Linked DNA regions of Homo sapiens: region 2 is linked to region 1. The links are contacts of gene promoters, found by promoter capture Hi-C in blood cells and fetal thymus (Javierre and others, 2016). All regions are on one chromosome and are shown on one strand. Each heading gives the region's core, a stretch centred on a gene start or on the middle of the fragment in contact. The rest is flanking DNA. Distances are from core to core; before and after follow the strand shown.

Region 1 (6,911 bases), core at 1,663-4,162:
CTGCTAGTGTGATCAGAAAACAATGTTTCGTCATGAAATGACAGGGCAGTTTTGCTTATGAAGGGTCTACAAACTAAGAGAATAGGTTTAGGATGTCAGAACTGAAAAAGATCGGGTATGGTGGCACATGCCTGTAATCCCAGCACTTTGGGAGGCCGAGGCAGGCAGATCGCTTGAGCCCAGGAGTTCGAGACCAGTCTGGGCAACATGGCGTAACCCTGTCTCTACCAAAAGTACAAAAAAAAAAAAAAAAAAAAAATTACCGGGTGTGGTGGCCCACACCTGTAGTCCCAGCTAGTGAGGTGGGACCTGGGGGCTGAGGTGGGAGGAAAGCTTCAGCTTGGAGGTTGAGGCTGCAGTGAGCCATGATTGTGCCACTGCACTCCTGCCTGGGCACCAAAGTGAGACAAAGATAGAAAGAAGACAGAGAGAGAGAGAGAAAGGAAGGAAGGAAGGAAGGAAGGAAAAAAAGGAAAAGAAGGAAAGAGAGAAAAAAGAAAACAAAAGAAAAGAAAGATCTTGGAGGTCATGTACTTTGATGTTCCCTTCTACTAATGAGGAAAGGGGGAACAGGGGAAGTTAAAACCCTTGGTGAAGGTCAAATGGCAAGTAAGCAAAAGAAATGGGTCAGGAAACCCAGTCTCCTTGCTCTTGGTGCTCATGGCACTACATATTACACTGCTGTTACCTTGATATTTGGATAAAGGAATGCAACATACTGCTCCTCCCAAAAGGTTTTACTACTTTACACAGGTTAGCTGGTCATTTTATTTTTGCTTCTTTAACTCAACCCCTTTCACCTGGGCCTAGTTCTCATCAAAGGGTGGTATTCAATGTATCCAATGAACCCAATTAGCATTTCTAAAACGCCTGGGCAACACAACCAATAAGAAGATGCTATTGAACCTCTTACTTCCCCACTAATCCCCCTGCAGTTGGCAGAACTTAGCTGCCATGCTCAGTCTACAGACTACAAAGTTGCTTTGAGTTTCAAAAGTGGGGATCTGGAAAAGGATCTTGGCACAGCCCAAAAAAATAAGAATACTTTCACAACGATCCCTCATCCAGAGTTAGACTTGCTGACTTTAGAGGGTGGGAGTGTAAACTAAGGAGAATCATATACAAACCACCTATGGGAATCTAAGAGGTGATAGGCTGGTAGGCTCTTTGGAGGTGGCTGGGACAGAGAAAAAAGAAGAGGGACAGGACCTCTGTGAATCAAAGTCAGATGTGCCTGCCTTAGACAATCATTGTTTAATGTTGTCTAATATTTTAACTCCTTCAAAATGTCAACTGTTCCTACAGAATACACACATGTCAAATTTCCAAGACAGCATCATCTACCTGTACCATGCTCCAAATCCCATCCTCCCAGCTGCCCCTACTTGAACCAGACTGACCTGCAAAAATAGAGCAGAAAACTCACAGGCAGTAATGTTCCCCTTAAATACCCTACAATATGTCATTAACAAGAATCACGATGAAACACTATTGTAGAAATTGCCAGCATTAAACCAAAAGAATGTTGGTCAGTTCATGTTTCTTTTACAGTGTGACTTTGTTTGAGAGGGATAAAGGACAGGAAGAGGAGTGTACATCTTGCTTTAGCTGTTCCTCACTTGGCTAAGGAACTTTTGCTGTAGGAAGTGAAGACCCTGCACCTAGTTACAAGGCTTTTGATGCTTGTTTGTCAAGTTCAACTGTTAAAGGGGAGATAGGCTCTTCCCTAGTAGGGAGAGGGAGGAAGGAAAGGGGGATGGGGCGGGGGGAGGGAACAGGTAATATCTGCCATATAAATATTAGTATGTAGCTGACACGTTATAAACTGAGCTGTTAGGGTGAATTTCAATTTTGTTGGAATCGACCTTTTTTCCCTCTTAAGTTCAATTGACTTACAGTAGATCCCAGAAAGAACTCAATACGTTATTTATTCTAGAAAGCTTTCTTCCCTGAGCAAAGGAGGCAGAGCTAACGAGGAGAAGGGAGGAGCTTAGGTGAACAGAACTGAAGTCACAGCTGGTTAGCATGACTAGAATGCATGGAAAAGCCAGCCCAAATTAGATGAGTGGGTAGATAGAGAGCTTTGAAATCCTTGGAATTAATGGTGGAGTCCATCGTAATTGAAAGGTCGGGCCTTAGTGGGCTGGGATAGGGAGAGAAGCTGTCGGGGACCTGGGGCAGTGAGCCTGTACCCCGTGGCTTCTCACACACTATTTTGAAGGCGTTCCCATGCGCAATCTCGCCTGTCAGTTCAGGCTGTAGGTTTCTCCTTTCTAACTCCTGAGCAGAACAACACTGAACGGTGGTAGTCTTGCCTTGCCACCCAATGAGTGCTAGAAAACAGTCACTTCAACCAATTGGTTCAGTCCGGAGAACGTGAGCACATTCTACTTTACTTTCTGTTCAATGATTTTGGAAAACAACCTTTTAGATTCTGGTCAGAAGGGGCTTGGATCCGTGACTTTGAAACACTCGCCACTACCACAAACGACTTTGGAAGTTAATCAGAAATAAACAGTATCTGGGATCTCATCCGTCCTAAACCCAGGGGTCAGAGCGTGGGGGGCTTCCACTAACTTCAGGTTAAGAGGATGAAACAGATCCGCGGAGAAGGGTCCCACGATCCCTGGAGACTAAAAGCAAGCCACGAACAGCCGGGACGCGCGGGCCGGGGAGATGCGCCGGGGGCTGGAGGGCGGAGAGCACCCCCCGCAGGTCCCGGCCAGAGCCCGGGGCCGGGTCACCTGACTCGCGGAATTTGGGGCCGCGAGGGGTGGAATGGGAGGGGAATGGTTAGCGCCTCCCTTCCCGCTCCCACTGGATCCAGGTCGGCGGGGGCCGGCGCCCGGCGGCCACGTGGTGGTGCTGCCGCTGCCCCCGCCCCGCCGGCCTAGCCCGGGAGCTCGGCGCCCACTGACCCCCGCAGCGGGGGAGGAGGAGGGACTGCGGCGCAGGAAGCCGAGCAGGAAGCGAGCCCGGCGGCCGCGTTTTCCTGGGGAAGCGGCGGGCGGGGTGGAGCAGCCAGCTGGGTCCGGGGAGCGCCGCCGCCGCCTCGATGGGGTGAGTGCGCGGCACGGAGTTGGGAGGCTCCCGGCGCGGGGTCCCGGGCTCGTGTCCCCGCCTTTGTGTCTGGAGCTCGGGCGCGGGAGGCGCTGGGGACGGCGCCCGGGCGGAGCGGCTGAGCGGGCTGCAGCCGGGGTCCCGCCACCTCTCCCTGGTCCACCGCCGGCAGCCCACTGTCTGCGGAGAGCAGATCTGGGGACAAGAGGAAGGAGAGGAAGGTGGAGATGAGGGTAGAGCGGGAAGACCCGGCCAAGTTAGGAGAAGGGTTCTTCCCGGGTCCTCCGCGACTCGCAGGCCGGCTGGGGCGGGGCGCGGGGCAGGGGCCGCGGCGGAGGGAGCGCGGGTGGGAATGAATGAGCAGACCCGGAGATGCACCCTGGAGTCTGCGCCGGGTCCCACCTGTTTCGCCCCGCGCGGCGCCTCGCTGCCCCCGCGTCGGTGCTGCTGAGCCCAATCCGCCTCCCGGCTGAACTTGGAGGAGGTGGGGAGGGAGGTGCGAGCGGGAGACTCCGGGTGGCTCCCAGGACGCGGGGTCCGCTATTGTTCCTCCTCTGACTCCAGGGAGCCCCTCGGCCGGCCCAAGGGCGGGGGCGAGACCCCTCTGGGCCTGCCCCTGCCCCCTACCTTGTTTTCCCCGCCGCAGCTCGGGGAGAACGGATGCTGGAGTTGGGGCAGACTCGGGGCCGCCGGGACTTCGGGAGTAAGGAGGACGTGGAGCCACCAGAAAGGCGCCCGCCATCTCCCGCGACCCCTGCCTGGTGGGGGGTGGGGGGTGGGGTGTCGTCCTCAACCACCTTCGCTGCCTTCTTGGGCAGGTTGGTGTCGGTTTAGTTTCTGCGGTTTGCAGGGTTGACATCCTAACTCCTTTGAGTTTCGCATCCCCCTTTTGTGGAGGGGGCTCAGAGCCTGGAGAAGCAACAGACGGGGAATTAAGGCAGATGCAGCCCAGCACAGCGTGGAGGGGTCCGAAGTGGCCTCACGGGGGCCTGAGCATGGCTGTCTTTCCAGGCTCCTCTTTATTTGCCAGGAGCCCAGCTAAGCCCAACTTTACTCCCAGAAATGTTGAGGGGAATCTGCGGACTCGAGGCCCCTCGCCTCGGGACCAGCGGCTTCTCTTCGCCGCAGCTCACGCATGATCGGGGTGGGATTCCGTCTTCCTTCCGGGAGAGGAGAATGCCCAGCTGCCTGGGATGGGGAAACGTTGCCGGATCTCTGGGGAATGTGGTCTCAAGGCTGCAGGGGCCTGGCAGAGAGGAACTGTCCATCACTAGGACATAGCCGAAGCTCGCCTTAGCGAAGAGAGTCTCACCTCCTCGGGCTTTGCACAGAGTTGGAGAAGAGGTCGGGAATCACAGGGAGGCTGGATTTTGGCTGCTCTGTCCCCAGCCTGCAGGTCCCTGTTCGCCCTGTGGCTCGGAATTTTATTACTGATGTATATAATCTGATAATCTTTTCTTAATGATGCCTAACAAGTGTGATTTTTTTCCCCCTTGGGTTTGTAAGACAGTTGATTTTATGTGAGGAGATTGATCCAGTTCTTATATTTTAGCCAGTGCTTGTCTAACAGAGATTGGGAGAGCTATCCCGTGCTGGGCTGTTGCACAGTTTTCATCTCCATTCACTGAGATGCTTCAGTAATGAATTTATTGTTTTATGGCTTTTTGGAGATGGTGGTGGTGGTGGTGTGATTATAACCCTGCTGGAAAATCTTATTACTGTTATCTGAATTGAAGAGACAGAAAGGATGCTGAGCCCCCTAGGGATTCCGTAGGGGAATGATGTAGTGTCCCGCCCACCAGTAGTGAACCTGACAGTGAAATTCTCTCTCCAGTCTGCTAGTTTTCAAAGCATGTTCTAGGCAGGTACACGTACTATCACCTAGGCTTTAAAAGTGAAGAAGCAGATTTGGAGGTTAAGAACAACTGGGCCTTGGAATTAATAGAATGCAGTGGACAACTTTTGCCTCTCCTTCCTCCACCCCCTCCCTCCCTTCCTTCTTTCCTTTTTTTTCATCCTTTAAAAATAAAAATAAGGGCCAGGCATGGTGCTTATGCCTGTAATCCCAGCACTTTGGGAGGCCGAGGCAGGCGGATCATGAGGTCAGGAGATCGAGACCATCCTGGCCAACACAGTGAAACCCCGTCTCTACTAAAAATACAAAAAATAAAAATTAGCTGGGCGTGGTGGCACGCACTTGTAATCCCAGCTACTTGAGAGGCTGAGGCAGGAGAATCGCTTGAACCCGGGAGGTGGAGGTTGCAGTGAGCTGGGATTGCGCCACTGCACTCCAACCTGGCGACAGAGCAAGACTCTGTCTCAAATAAATAAATAAATAAATAAGTATGAAATATTTCTAACATACATAAAAACAGAGTATAGTAAGCCATTTTGTCTTCTACTTCCTAGGTTTAATAGTTGCTAATATTTTCATATTTGATCCATACCTCTCCCCCCCCGGAAAAATAAACTATAACTTAAATATTTGATCTATTCCTACTCCTTTGCCTCCATCCTCAGGTAACCTCTAATGTGAAGTTAGCGCACACAGTTCTCAAGCATGTTTGGAACTACACTGTATCCACAAAAAAATACATGTGAGTTTGTGTTTAACATTTTACATAAATGGCATAATTCTACCTATGTATAGCTTGCATTTTTAACTTACTATGTTTTTGAGATACATGTGTTAATAGATCTTTATTCACTTTAGCTGTTACAGAGAATCCCAGTGTATGAAAAAAGTATAGTATATTTACTCCCTTGCCAAGAGTAAGTTAGGGTTTCTGGTTTTTCACTGTTTTTTGTTTGAGCTGCGGTCTCGCTCTGTCACCCAGGCTGGAGTGCAGTATCGTGATCACTGCTCACTACAGCCTCAATCTCCTGGGCTCAAGCAGTCCTCCTGCCTCATCCTCCAAAGTGGCTGGGACCACAGGCACATGCCACCATGCCTGGCTAATTTTTTTCATTTTTGTAGAGACAGGGTCTTACTATGTTGCTCAGGCTGGCCTTGAACTCTCAGCCTCAAGTGAGCCTTCTACCTCAGCCTTCCACAGTGCATGAGCCACTGTGCCTGGCCTAGTTTTTCACTGTTACACTTTTTCTGCTGAGTGACACTCTATTTCCATTTTCATTTTTATTTTTATTTCTTTTTACTATAACAGTTTGTACAATAAACATCCTGAGATGTTTTCTTGTGCACACATTTTTCTGTTACACACTTATTTAGTTAGTTGCTGGGTAATGAAGTTTAGGTAATATTGCATTTATTATTCATTCTTCAACAAATATTTAGGGTGCTTGTATGGTCTTGGCTATCTGTTGACTAAAAAAGTGAAACTGATTAAATTCTAAGAAGATTACATAGTTGGCTGGATTATTTTTTTCTTTTTTCTTTCTTTGTTTTAATTAAGAAAAGTGGGACTGGTGTAGTGTTGCATGCCTGTAATCCCAGCACTTTGGGAGGCCAAGGCAGGAGGATTGCTTGAACTCAGGAGTTCAAAACTAGCCTGGGAAACATGGTAAAACCTCATCTCTACAAAAAATACAAAAATTAGCTGGGTGTGGTGGTGTGCCTGTGGTCCTAGCTACTCAGGAGGCTGAGGTGGGAGGATTGCTTGAGTCCTGGATGTCAAGGCTGCAGTGAGCCTAGATTACACCACTGCATTGCAGCCTGGGCGACAGAGTGAGACCCTGTCTCAGCTCCCAGCACTTTGGGAGGCCGAGGCAGGTGGATCACCTGAGGTCAGGAGTTCGAGACCAGCCTGACCAACATGGAGAAACCCCGTCTCTACTAAAAATACAAAATTACCCAGGCGTGGTGGCGCATGCCTGTAATCCCAGCTACTCGG
Region 2 (6,911 bases), core at 1,418-3,917, 51 kb after region 1:
CCACCTCACCTCCTGAGTAGCTTCGGACTATGGACACATGCCACCATGCCTGGCTAATTTTATTTATTTTCATAAATTTAAATTTAAAAACAGATACTCAATGCAAATATTGGAAAATGCTTAAGTTTGGAACAACTTGGGTATGTGAATTTGTTTTTTCAACTCTAAATCTCCTGAAATCTAAATAGATGTCAAGTATTTGCAATAAAAATGTAGCATGGGAATTGAGATGTACAGTAAGTTTACAGGATTTTTAAAACCTAGTATGAAAAAAAGTAAAATATCCCAATAAGAGTTTTCATGGTGATTTCATGCTGAAATCATCATATTTTGCCTATATTGTTATTTTAAAAATATATTATTAAAATTAATTTCACCAGCTTATTTGTACTTTATAAAATGAGGCTATCAGGAAATATAACATGTGGCATTATATTATATATCTCTTGGATAGCACTATGTTAGATCCTAAAAGAAAACTGAAGTGGAATGATACTGGTTACATACTGCTCTCTTAATTAACATAAACAGATGTGAGCCTTTATACCCAGGAGTCACCAGCCCCCCTGCATTTGCCTTTGTGGACAGATGTGTAACCAGTTTCCTTTTTTCTTTTTATTTTTTTTGTGACAGAGTTTCACTCTTGTTGCCCAGGCTGGAGTGCAATGGTGCGATCTCAGCTCACTGCAACCTCCGCCTCCTGGGTTCAAATGATTCTCCTGCCTCAGCCTCCTGAGTAGCTGGGATTACAGACATGCACCACCACATCCGACTAATTTTGTATTTTTAGTAGAGATGGGGTTTCTCCATGTTGGTCAGGCTGGTCTCGAACTCCTGACCTCAGATGATCTGCCCACCTTGGCCTCCCAAAGTGCTGGGATTACAGGCATGCGCCACCACGCCCAGCCCACTTTCTGTTTTTCTTTAGGTTTATGCAAACATCCCCTGTATTTGCTCTCTGTCCTCTGAAGCTGCTGATTTAACATCACTGATTTTCCGTATGGAGCATCTCAATGAAATGCATTTTTAAATGCTGTGATTTTGGACTTTCTGTGTTTTTTTTCTGTGAAGGTTTTCCTGGCATAGGAATGTAATTGTTCTGCCCTAGTGTTATTCTCTGTCCATAGAAGGGAGTTACCATTCTTGGAACTCAGATTTATAACCACTTTCTTATTTTCGTAATGCCTCCTAATATACTTTTTAAAAGGGACTTAACCTTCATATAATTCAGTTTTCCTTAAAATGTTTAATCACCCACTTTAGCAGCCTTGGCTTTGTGTGACTCATGGAATATGTGTATCATTTTATTTTTAAAACTTACTCATTAAACTGAGGACAATGAAGATTTCTTAAAAGGTAAATATAAATAGAATGTCACTTAAGGATTATTTTCTGCTTTTATATGGTTTTTCCCATATTTTGAGGGTTCTTGCTCAAAATATCTCAGGCTGACTAATGAATTTTAGGCTGATACTTAGACATTCATGTTAACATTTGAAAATGATACTCGAACCCGGAGTTTGGGACTTAATGGAAGAAATGTTTTATTTCGGAACTTTATTACATTGATGTTGGGCCTATTGTGTGATTATACTGTATCACAGGAGATTGCAGGCTTTTTATTCCTGATCTGTATAGTTTATTCTTTGTTGCTGCCTCCTATTACTGCAGGAGGGGTTTTCTCTGCTTGAAACACCAAGTTATCTGGACCATTTTAAGGGCACAGAAATAATACTTGTGCCCTTTTTGTATATGCCTCATGTGACTCCTTGACCTTGAACTTTGTATGATGGATGGCATTTCATGAAAAATAGCCCTTTTCTACCCCAGAAAAGTTTTTCATCTTCCTTAACAAGAGGCAATAACTGAGTCAAGACCATCAAAACTTGCAGCTCTTGCCCTACCCCGCATCAAATTGCAGCATATTGAGAGATGATAAATATGTAAAACATGAAGCCAGAGAGGCAAAGACGTCAGCTCAACATTTTACTGTTACTTTCAGATAGCATCAAAACTTGGCACATGATGTTGTGGACAGAACCGCAGGCTATATTTACTGATCTTGGTTCTGCCAATTACTTGTGTGTGACTCCTGCAAGTCAGTTAGCCTCCCTGGGTTTCCACATGGGTGAAATAAGATGCTCTTGGCTGGGCACGGTGGCTCACGCCTGTAATCCCAGCACTTTGGGATACCAAGGCAGGCAGATCACCTGAGGTCAGGAGTTCGAGACTAGCCTGGCCAACATGGTAAAACCACATCTCTACTAAAAATACAGAAATTAGCCCGACGTGGTGTCAGGTGCCTGTAGTCCCAGCTATTTGGGAGGCTGAGGCAGGAGAATCTCTTGAACCTGGGAGGCGGGAGGTTGCAGTGAGCCAAGATCACGCTACTGCACTCCAGCCTGGCGACAGAGCGAGACTCCGTCTCAAAAAAAATGCTCTCAAAAGTCTCATTAAGCTTTAAAATTCTGTATTTCCTGTTCAGGTCTCTTTCCAAGTCCCTCTGCTCCTCATCCATCTTTGTGTCCACTGATAATTGCTTCTGTAAGAGAGTACAAAAGCAGTTCATTTATTTTTACTGGAGTTGTGCAAAGTCCCCCAGGCATCTGGGGGAAAAAAACCACACATCTTAATTGAAGTGTATTCAAGTCTCCCCAGTACCTCGTCAAAATTTATCATCTTCTACTCTTCTATGACATTTCTTGTAATCTCTACTAATTGAGAACAAACAACAGGGAATCTGGTCCTACTGTAAGTTATGATTATAATAACCTTTCCTTGAAATAGACAGTTATTTTTTCACATTTCCTTAAGCACATGGCAGAGCTGTAGACAGGAAATCCTCAAGCCTCTGACCCTCTCTCCAAGGGGAAAATCAAAGCTTTGAAAAAATGGCAGAAGAAGAAAGAGAGGGAATGTTGATACAGGGGCGGGAAAAGAGAAAGAAAGGAAGGAAGTGAAAGTCTATGTCTTTATGTGTCTACTGTATTTATGAGTTTGCTTTGTTTCTAAAGTGGAGTAAGGAAAGGTTATCATGTCAAGAAACTAGATCGTATGAAAGCTAAGCTGCTCCTGAGTGTTATCTAAATATAAAGATATAATTTAATATACTCTTTAGAACCACATTTGAAATAATAAAACCTAAGTATAAGGGAACTTTGGGTTTTTGTTTTTTTTTTTTGAGACCGAGTTTCACTCTTGTTGCCCAGGCTGGGGTGCAATGGCGCGATCTCGGCTCACTGCAACCTCTGCCTCCCGCGTTCAAGCGATTCTCCTGCCGTAGCCTCCCGAGTAGCTGGGATTACAGGCATGCGCCACCTCGCCCGGCTAATTTTCTATTTTTAGTAGAGACAGGGTTTCTCCACGTTGGTCAGGCTGGTCTCAAACTCCCGATCTCAGGTGATCCGCCCGCCCCAGCCTCCCAAAGTGCTGGGATTACAGGCGTGAGCCACCGCACCTGGCCAAAGGAACATATTTTTAAGAAGTCTGCAGAGTTCTGACAGTATAATCATGTCAGCAGTTAAAAAATTGTCAACTAATTAGCCTGCGTCTTTTGTGAAAACAACAAAAAAAAATTTTTAGCTTAAATTTATTTAAAACATATTCCATAGGTTGTGGGTATCTTTGCATTTATATATTTGGATGTTTTGCCAAGTTATAACAGTGAAAATAAAATGTCAGTAGTTAAAAAACCGTGATAAAATTTAAAACCATGGGGGTAATTGATTATAAAAGACCATTATGCCACAGATAAAATAAGTTGCCTGAGAGCCTGCCTGGAGCCATTAGTTAAAACATTGCCAATCTAATAATGATAGAACTGGGCAGCCATGGTGGCTGATGCCTGTAATCCCATATCTTTGGGAGGCTAAAGTGGGAGGATCGTTTGAGGCCAGGAGTTTGAAACCAGTCTGGGCAACATAGCAAGACCCTATCTCTATAAAAACTTTAGAAGATAACTGGGCATGGTGGTACATGCCTATTGTGCTAGCTAGGCGGGAGGAATGCTTGAGCCCAGGAATTTGAGGTTACAGTAAGCTATGATCATGCTTCTGCTCTCCAGCCTAGGCAACAAAGTGAGACCCTATCTCAAAAAAAAAAAAAAAAAAAAAATTCATTCAGAAATTCAGTTTCTAATGCCAGGCTTGCCTGTAATCCCAGCAATTTGGGAGGCCAAGGTGGGCAGATCACCTGAGGCCAGGAGTTTGAGACCAGTCTGGCCAACTTGGCGAAACCCCGTCTCTACTAAAAATAAAAAAATTAGCTGGGCATGGTGGCATGTGCCTATAGTCCCAGCTACTTGGGAGGCTGAGGCAGGAGAATCGCTTGAACCTGGACGACGGAGGTTGCAGTGAGCTGAGATCATGCCACTGCACTCCAGCCTGGGCCACAGAGCAAGACTGGTCTCCAATTAAAAAAAAGAAAATCAGTTTTTAAAGTAAACTTTCAAAAGTCTGTAGCTACTTTGTGTCAATTCTGCACAAGATGGGTTTTCCTAGTATTGGAATTTTGGAGGGTCTGCCCCTCTCTGTTGACATTTGGAAAAAAACAAATCTTCATTCATATAATCTCAGACAGTTCTTAACCCCACTGCACATTAACATTACCTGGGGAGCTTAAAAACAAAAGTTATTCCTGTTCTTCACCCAACTCCCATACAACTGAATACAATTTTCTGGAGAGGAGCTGGGTTGGGTATTACTTAGGCTCTTTGGAAGATTTTCCTGAGCAGAAAATGTTTAGAAGCACTGATCTAGGATAATAAGCAATCATCTAGGAGGGAAGCCGTGTAGATATTTTGTTTTGATCTCAGAGGCATAAGAATGAATTAACCACTCCTCATTCCCCCAGAGATAATGTGTGGAAAAACTTGTTTTCAAACCATCCCGAAGAAAAGCAAATGTGATTTAAGGCCAGATTGTTTCCAAGTGGCCTTTTGCAGTTCCTTTGTTCTGCATTCAGACTGAGTTGTGCGTGGAAATAGTTTAGGTATTAGTCCATGAACATGGAATTTGACCTTGGTAAGGAAATACATCCTCCGCTTTCCTCACTAACCAATTGTATTCATTTGTTAGGGCTGCTGGAATAAAGTGCCACAGATGGGCGGCTTAGAACAACTGAAGTATACCTTCTTGGGTCTGGAGGCGAGAAGTCTGTGTAGCAGGGCCATCCTGCCTCTGAAGTCTCTGTAAGGAAGAGTCCTTCCTTGCTTATTCCTAGCTTCTGGTTTTGCTGGCAGTTGTTGGAATTCCTTGGCTTGTAGGTGCATTATTCTAGTCCTCTGTCCTTACATGGTCATCTTCTCCCTCTGTATGTATCCGTCTTGGTGTCTAAATGTTCCCCTTTATAAGAACAGTAATTTCTTGTAGTGAGACTGGCTTGTTCCCTTCCCATGGCATAGGCTCTCTGTCAGATATTACCTCAGTATGTGAAAGAACTTGCATGCCTCTTGCTTCTCAAGGCTGGATTGGACTGACTCTAGGGCCCTTAGCCTCAGGCATTTGCTGAGGGGCCACTAAGTGGGTGGAAGATTAGATTTTAGTGTTTCCAAACTTTGTTGATGATGAGAATCACATAAGTTGCTTGTTAAGAACAGGGATTCCCAGGTCCTCTCCTTGAAGATTCTGGTTCAGTAGGTCTGGGTAGAACCAGGGAGCTGCATTTCAGTGAGGATCTCCCTGCACCATCCCTCCACCACCCAGCTCTTGCAGGTGATTCTTATCAATGAGTGAGCTTCAGAAACATTGGACTAAGTGACTTCTGCTCAGCATGCCAAGACTGTAAAGTTTCTGACATGTGTTCTTCCAGCAGAAGAGATTTCTAGTAGACTATTCAATATCTTTCCTCTCCTTTCTTAGTAAAAGAACCTTATCTTTTATTTGGGATGCAGTGAATTCAGTTAAAAGAGTTTCCTAGCCTTCTTTGAACTACGTTTGACTGACTAGGTTTGACCTGGTCAAAGAGAAGTGATGGGGGGTGCTATGGACTGAATGTTTGTGTCCCCTCAAAATTACTCTGTTGAAATCCTAATGCCCAAGGTGACTGGTATTTAGAGATGAGGCCTTTGGGAAGTGATTAGGTCATAGGTTTCATGCGCGTCCGTGTGAAGAGACAACCAAACAGGCTTTATGTGAGCAACATGGCTATTTATTTCACCTGGGTGCAGGCGGGTTGAGTCCGAAAAGAGACTCAGCAAAGGGTGGTGGATTTTCATTAGTTCTTATAGGTTTTGGGATAGGCAGTGAAGTTAAGAGCAATGTTTTGCCGGCAGGGGGTGGATCTCACAAAGTACATTCTCAAGGGTGGGGAGAATTACAGAGAACCTTCTTAAGGGTGGGGGAAATTATAAAGAACATTCTTAAGGGTGGCAGAGATTACAAAGTACATTGATCAGTGAGGGTGGGGCAGAAACAAATCACAATGGTGGAATGTCATCAGTTAAGGTTATTTTTACTTCTTTTGTGGATCTTCAGTTACTTCAGGCCATCTGGATGTATATGTGCAAGTCACAGGGGATGCGATGGCTTGGCCTGGGCTCAGAGGCCTGACAACAGGGATGGAACCCTCATGAATGAGATTATTGCCCTTATTAAAAAGGCCCCAGAGAGCTACTTCATCCCTTCTGCCATATGAGGACACAGCAAGAAGACAGCTGTCTATGAACCAGGAATCAGGCTTTCACCAGACACCGACTCTGACGTGATCTTGGACTTCCCAGCCTCCAGAAGTGTCAGAAATAAATGTCTATTGTTTAAGCCACCCAGTCTGCAGTATTCTGTTACAGCAGCCTGAACTGAGGTAAAACAGGTGGAAGGCCCTGTCAAAGCATCCTTGTATGCTGCTGAAAGTTACACCGCCTCTTTTCCTTATTCTATTTTTTTTCCTTTTATTCTATTTTTTTTATTCTATCT

What was found. The method cuts DNA at HindIII sites, captures the fragments that hold promoters and counts their contacts. A CHiCAGO score of 5 or more calls a contact.
Region 2: a fragment that was not itself captured here is called in contact with the fragment with the promoter of RAI14 in region 1 in 1 of 17 cell types (endothelial precursors); the score reaches 5.2 in endothelial precursors.

Annotation. Positions count from the first base shown.
Region 1 is chr5:34,653,416-34,660,326 of GRCh38, forward strand. It overlaps RAI14 (retinoic acid induced 14), which reads left to right and starts at 2,913. Exons shown (of 18, transcript NM_015577.3): 1 at 2,913-3,060. RAI14-DT (RAI14 divergent transcript) reads right to left here and starts at 2,758. Exons shown (of 3, transcript NR_183264.1): 1 at 2,578-2,758. RefSeq lists a silencer at 2,871-2,920. The HindIII fragment of the contact is 8,769 bases long and covers 1,939-6,911 here.
Region 2 is chr5:34,705,039-34,711,949 of GRCh38, forward strand. All of the region lies in intron 2 of RAI14 (retinoic acid induced 14), which reads left to right. LOC124900960 (a long non-coding RNA gene) reads left to right here and starts at 4,364. Exons shown (of 3, transcript XR_007058730.1): 1 at 4,364-5,188; 2 at 6,474-6,911. The HindIII fragment of the contact is 423 bases long and covers 2,457-2,879 here.